2 separate regions of the Homo sapiens genome follow, and region 1 is linked to region 2. Evidence: promoter capture Hi-C in human tissues and cell types (Jung and others, 2019). All regions are on one chromosome and are shown on one strand. Each heading gives the region's core, a stretch centred on a gene start or on the middle of the fragment in contact. The rest is flanking DNA. Distances are from core to core; before and after follow the strand shown.

Region 1 (2,918 bases), core at 270-2,769, 34 kb after region 2:
TGTGGAAGTTTGATTCTGAGTGAGCTCAATATCGTCGTGGTGTGTTCTACCACGTCCCTTCTAGCCCTTTCCGCGCTTTCTCCCATCTAGTGTTTCCCTGCTCAAATGGAAGGAGAGAGGAACAACTTAGAGCACAGTGTGACTGGGGCAAGCTACCTTAGAGATAATCATTTAAACACCAGCTAGACTGCTGCAAGAAAAGAAATGATGGTAAAAATAAATGTACTCCAAAGGAATTTGACTAAAGAATATTTCACCGTGTAACACATTTCTGTGTGCCCCTTTTGCAATGTATCATTAAGGATGCATTGCTAGGCATAATGAAACAAAATGTTTTTCGTAATGAAGTGGTTATTTTGCAATGAAAGCCAGTCAAGGAAAGAAATCAGGCTTGAATACTCCTAGTCACAACCTTTATAAAATCTAACGTTATGGTTAGACTATACCATGCCTGCGCTTAAGTAGTTTTTGAAATTTTAACCCAAATAAGAAATTCTTGGCTGGGCATGGTGGCTTATGCCTGTAATCCCGCACTTTGGGAGGTCGAGGCAAGCGGATCACCTGAGGTCCAGGAGTTCGAGACCAGCCTGGCCAACGTGGCGAAACCCCGTAGCTACTAAAAATACAAAAAATTAACTGGGCATCGTGGCACATGCCTGTAATCCCAGCTACTCAGGAGGCTGAGGCAGGAGACTCTCTTGAACCTGGGAGGCAGAGGTTGCAGTGAGCCGAGATTATGCCACTGCATTCCAGTCTGGGTGACAGAGTGAGACTCCATCTGAAAAAAAAAAACAAAACAAAACAAAACAGAGAAGAAATTCCTTCATTATAAGGAAAAAAGAAATGCACATAAGCACAGTTACAATATTATATTTCCTGATTAAAAATATGTATTCTTTTAATGGACTACAAATATTATAATTTTTCTTAAAATGGCCCGTGTGTAAAAAGTTTATTCCCCTTTACTTTACTTTTATATAGTAATGAAATTTCATAATTAAATCTATATTTTGTATTATCAATATTTAACCACTAGAAGAATTGATGATGCTACTTATTAAAAATGACAAGTGATGTAATAGAGTTAGTGGGATGTCTGCCTGTTGAAACCATTTTACTAGGTAAGTATTTTTATTACAAAGGGGTTGGATATAAACTGGCCTCATATCCAAAAACCTTTTTGCAAAAATCAAAACTGGATATATCCTGTGTTCGCTTCCTTTTCCCTGGGCCCCTCTGTTAAAATCTTTTAGCAAAAAGATTTTACCAAATAATTCACATTGAAATATAAATAGTTTTAAAGTTTGCTATGTTGCTTTCTTTCCAAAGGTATTCAGATTTTAGTAGGGGACAAAAGTGTCCCCTAAGTCAAGTGAGTATAAGAATTACCTATATTGTTTGCTACAAATGCAAATATCCACAGCCTCCTTGTAAAGTCTCATTCAGGGGCTGCCTACTGCAGGGCCCAAGAATCTATATTTTTAACAAATACTCTGGTCATTCTTGGGACTAGCAAATCTAGAAAACACCAACTTGAATAAAACGATTAAAGTTGTGCTTGCTGAATTTCAACTACATTAAAGGTACCAGTGCTGGAGGAGATTTTTGAGGGGTTGAGGAGAAATAATTACACATAAATTATTTTATTAATGAAATGATTCAGCAAAGTGTAAACGCCCGTAATGGGCTTGGCAGTGTCCTGGGGCTGAAGGTACTGAGTAGAATAGGACGTGAGACAAGTGCTCTACTTGAAATAAGCACAGACGTGGAAGAAGGGATGTGTAGTTTTGTCTGGGGATTCGGCACAGTTTTTATGGAGGATGTGGTCTGTGAAATGGCTGATTTGAAACATGAAGGAGGCTGCTTATGGGATGGGTTATTCTGGGAAGCAAGCAAGTGCGAGGGCACCAGAAGGTATGAAGGGCCTTGGAGTACTGGGCTTTCTTATGGCTGCGAGAGAGGATGAGTTGGAATGAGATGAGCAGCTTATGAAACCAGGAAGACAGGTTATTGTGGAGGAGTGACTTGCTAAGCTCTATCAGATGAGCAATGAGCAGTGAGGAAACAGGGGAGAGATGAAATCATGGCTGCTTTTGGAAAGATAAGTGGACTAGCATGCAGCATGGAGAATGGAGAGGTGGAGGGTTGTTGTTGGTGTGTGTGTGTGTGTGCACGTATGACAGAGAGAGAAAGAAGAGGGAATATGAATGGCATGGGAAATAAGAGAAAGGCAGGCCAGGTCAGAGGGTTTTTAGGATGGCCTGTGAGGTGTAGGAGGGTCTGGAGGTCGGCCGTGGAGTGGAGAAGAGATTGAGGACTCAGGCACTAATCTAAGGGGAAGGGGGACACTGTATTCTAAGGGGGCCAGTCCTGCTGCTCCCTGTAAGCACTTTATGTATTTGACATGAAATATACTGAGATGGCCCCCATACTTTAGGGTGCAAATGCTCCCCTAAAGTGAGAGTGGAAGAAGAAAAAAGGAGAAGGCACTTATTTGCTCATGTGAGCCGTGTACAGTTCCTTCAGAGCTCAGAGAGGCACTATGCAGTGAATCAAGCCAGGTCAGCTGCTGGGACTAGGGGCCTGGGTAGGTCACAGCCCTGCCGGCCATCCACATGCCTTCCAGGAACACCCCAATCTCTGGAACCTTTCCTGAGGCCTCCATTTTCAGGAATTTTGTTAGGAATCCAGATAACAGAATGGCCATAGTGGTGATTATGTTCCTTCTACCTCCTTTTCATCAGCCTCGCTCACCTTACCCTTCCAGACATGAGAAAACAGTTTCACTACAATATCCAGTAGATTTACCTAATTGGTAAAATAAGAAAGGCCAAGGAAGTTGCTCTTCTCTTCACTCCCACCCCTCCTGTTCATTTTGTTTGTAACAATAGAGCCAAGTTTCAAACAAATGTAGAAAA
Region 2 (3,111 bases), core at 269-2,768:
AGGTAAGCCTGATGATGCTTTGTTCCTTACCCTGAGAGACATTTTACCAAAAACACTGACAGACATTCCTGATAGATTAACCAATACCAAACGTTTTTGAATCCTATTCTTATTTGCCACACACGTTTAGTCAGGATCTCAAGGATTCATCAGTAGCAGCAGAAACTTTAATGTAGGGTTAATATATTTGAGAGGTCATTCTTAAGAAAAGTCTAGGCAATAGGCCCTCAGGTAGTGAATTATTCTGTAGGATTCATTGTTTTTTGTTTCATTTTGTTTTGTTTTGTTCTTTTTTCATTTTTCTATTTTTCTCCATAGGATTCTTGATAGGTTTCAATCACACACCTTCCCATGGGTATTTCCATGGGCAACCCACCCCTTCTCTTCAGCAGTAAACTAACAACTACATACCAGTGAACATCACAGGTATAAACCACCTTTCTTCTTTTAAGGAATTAGTATGCAAACTTTAGTACTCTTTTCCTAGTAACAAATAACTGCTGTATCAGATTGTGTCACAAGGCAGCTGCTTTGACTTATTGCTCTGTAGCTGGGGTCAGCCTCTTCAGAACATTGTTAATGAGAGAAAGGAAGTGCTTTGGGCAGTGTCTGGCCCATCAGGCCCTCTGTAAATGTTTGCTATTAATGCAATGCTGAGATCCCAGTGAACAGAATCTGGCTTAGAAGAAGTGGGTATCCACGGTGCCCGAGCCTAATCTTACATCTTGGATTTGTAAGTGGCATTTATTGAGTTGAACATGAGCTTGAGCACGCGGTCACACATTCTTTCAGCAAACACTGGTTAGGCACCAGCTGCTACGTGCAAGCACTGCCCTACATGCTGGGACGCAGCTGTAGTAGGAATGAAATAACGCCAGCATTCCTGCATGCGGGCAGTGCGGGCCCTGTACAGAAAGGTACACGAGATAGGCATCCTCACATCCATTGTCCTGGGAGGAAACTGAGGCTTTGAGAAACGGAGAACTTGCCGGGCCATTTGACTCTACGTCATCCCCTCCCCCATCAATGCCCTGAACAGCCTCCTGTACACCCTTAAGGAACTTACTTTGTAATGATTATTAAGAACTCAGCGAGACCCCGAGCATCACCTCGGCATATCGCATCCTTTCTCTAGAGAACCCCTAATGTTGGAAGGGATCAGAGCGCACCTCCTCCGCTCCTGGGAGCACCCCCTTCCTAATAATACCTTGGGGATGGGTCGGAAGGAAAGGAAAGGAGACGCGAGAGGTGTAGTCGATGTGCCTGCGAAGCCCAGGCTCCTCTGGAGATCCTTCCGTCCGTCCCTACAGGAGAAGGCTGGCCCGGGCTGCTCCACTCCCCGGAGCTGCAGACTGAGTCGCCAGGTTTCTGTGCCTTCAAAGCCCTGCGCGACGGCCACACCAAACACCCAAACCTTGGGCAGGGACCAAACGGTCACTTCCCCGCCCTCCGGGCTCAATATGCAAATCCGAGCACCAGGAAGTAGCTGGGACCTCTCGGCCGAGCCCAGAGACAGCCAGTTCCTCTCCCGCCGCGCCGGGCCGCGCTGCCGCTCGCTCCCCGGCCGTGGCGCCTCCGGGCCAGACGCGCTGCAGCCTCCAGCCCGCGGCAAGCGGGGCGGCCGCGCCACCCCCGGCCCCGCGCCAGCAGCCCCTCGCCGCGCGTCCAGCGTTCCCGGCCAGCAGCCTCCCCATACGCAGGTCCTGCTGGGCCGCCCCGTCGCGCCCCCCACTCTGAACTCAAGTCACCGTGGAGCTCCGCCGCCCCGAAACTTTCACCGCGAGCGGGTGAGTCCTCTGCGCGAGCCCAGGGGTGGGCGCGGGCACGCGGGCAGTGGGTGCAGGGGCCGCGGCTGTGCCACCAGCCGGAGTCCCGGGCGCAGGGTAGACTCGGGGCCGGGGGCATCGGCGCGGCCCGCGGCGGCTTCCTGGCCGCACCGCCTCTGGGCTCCGGCGGCGAAGGCTCTTAGATGTCTTCAGCCGACGGGTGACCGGGCCCGGGGGAGCCAGGGCGCGGGGACTGAGGCTCCGCAGGTGTCCGCCGCGGAGCCGCGCAGGGGAGCGGTGGGAGGTGCGGGCGCGGGGGCGGGCTCACCGCGTGTCCTTCCCGGTGAGGGCCCGAGGGCCGGCTGCTGTCCCTGCTCCGGCCGCTTCTCGCACACAGTGGGGAAGCCGCTGCCCTTGCGGAGCGGGCGCGCGGCGGGGATACTGGAGAGGACTCCTCGGATTGTGCAATCTGATCTCCCCTCTGGACCCTGGGTCTCCTGGCAGTGGGAGATGGGGCTCGGCCGGCGCCCTCTCGAGGCCCGCGGACAGTTGCCCTCCCTGGTGGCCCCGGGCAGGAGCGTGACGTCGAGGGGCTGCAGCGGAGGCTGGAACTCACCCTCCCGCTGCGGCGCCTCTCGGCCTGCCGAGGAGCAGTCCGGTGCTTTTGCCGGCTGAGAGGAAGCGAGAGTTATTTTAAGAATTCAGGGGTTGCCTTTCCTTCGCCTTGGGGGAAGGGCGTAAGAGTCAGTTCCCACTTTCCTGCATTCTCTGGGCCCATGGTGGCATCTTTTGCTTGCGGTGCATTCGTAACTTTCCAACAGCCTGCCTGTCATGTGGATTAGCGGTTGTGTTTTTGTATATCCGAGTGTGTTAATTATCCCAAATTCGCCCTTCTTCGCCAGCTCAGAATCTAGGCCTTGCACTTTTCTGGCTGTATATTTAGGGGACCGATTATTGAAATTCCCTGTTTGAGTTTCTTCATCTTTGAGAGAGCATATATACCTCAGGGGCTGTTTAGTACACACAAAGCCCCTAGTACGTACCAAGCATTTCATAAACGATGTTACTGTTATTTATTGCAGTGAATTCTATTCATATAAATGAGGCTTCTTGGTTCTTTGCAGCTTGGTGATGTTGAAGCTAAGACTACCATGTCAGATTTAGCCATCTGACCTTATTAGTAAATCTGCTTAATAAATACATGAGGGATTTGCTGTCCCAAAGCAGGGCCCAGTAGTCTGACTTTCCCTAAAGAACTAGCCAATAAACTGGTGGGCTACAGGGATGTTTTCTCTGTACAGCCAACACCTAAAGCCATGCCCTGGGGAATAGGCACTGCAAGAAC

What was found. Contacts are between HindIII fragments. The study calls those that stand out against the background at their distance.
Region 1: a contact is called between a fragment that was not itself captured here and the fragment with the promoter of LYN in region 2, in 1 of the 25 tissues and cell types used here (H1 embryonic stem cells).

Annotation. Positions count from the first base shown.
Region 1 is chr8:55,911,946-55,914,863 of GRCh38, forward strand. The region is part of intron 1 of LYN (LYN proto-oncogene, Src family tyrosine kinase); the gene reads left to right. Among named protein-coding and RNA genes, the nearest start is that of SNORA1B, 11 kb to the left of the region's middle. RefSeq lists enhancers at 2,126-2,626, 2,627-2,918. The HindIII fragment of the contact is 8,639 bases long and covers 1-2,918 here.
Region 2 is chr8:55,878,317-55,881,427 of GRCh38, forward strand. LYN (LYN proto-oncogene, Src family tyrosine kinase) reads left to right here and starts at 1,519. Exons shown (of 13, transcript NM_002350.4): 1 at 1,519-1,787. RefSeq lists enhancers at 613-702, 1,263-1,322 and silencers at 1,473-1,532, 1,553-1,722, 1,803-2,092, 2,123-2,302. The HindIII fragment of the contact is 15,672 bases long and covers 1-3,111 here.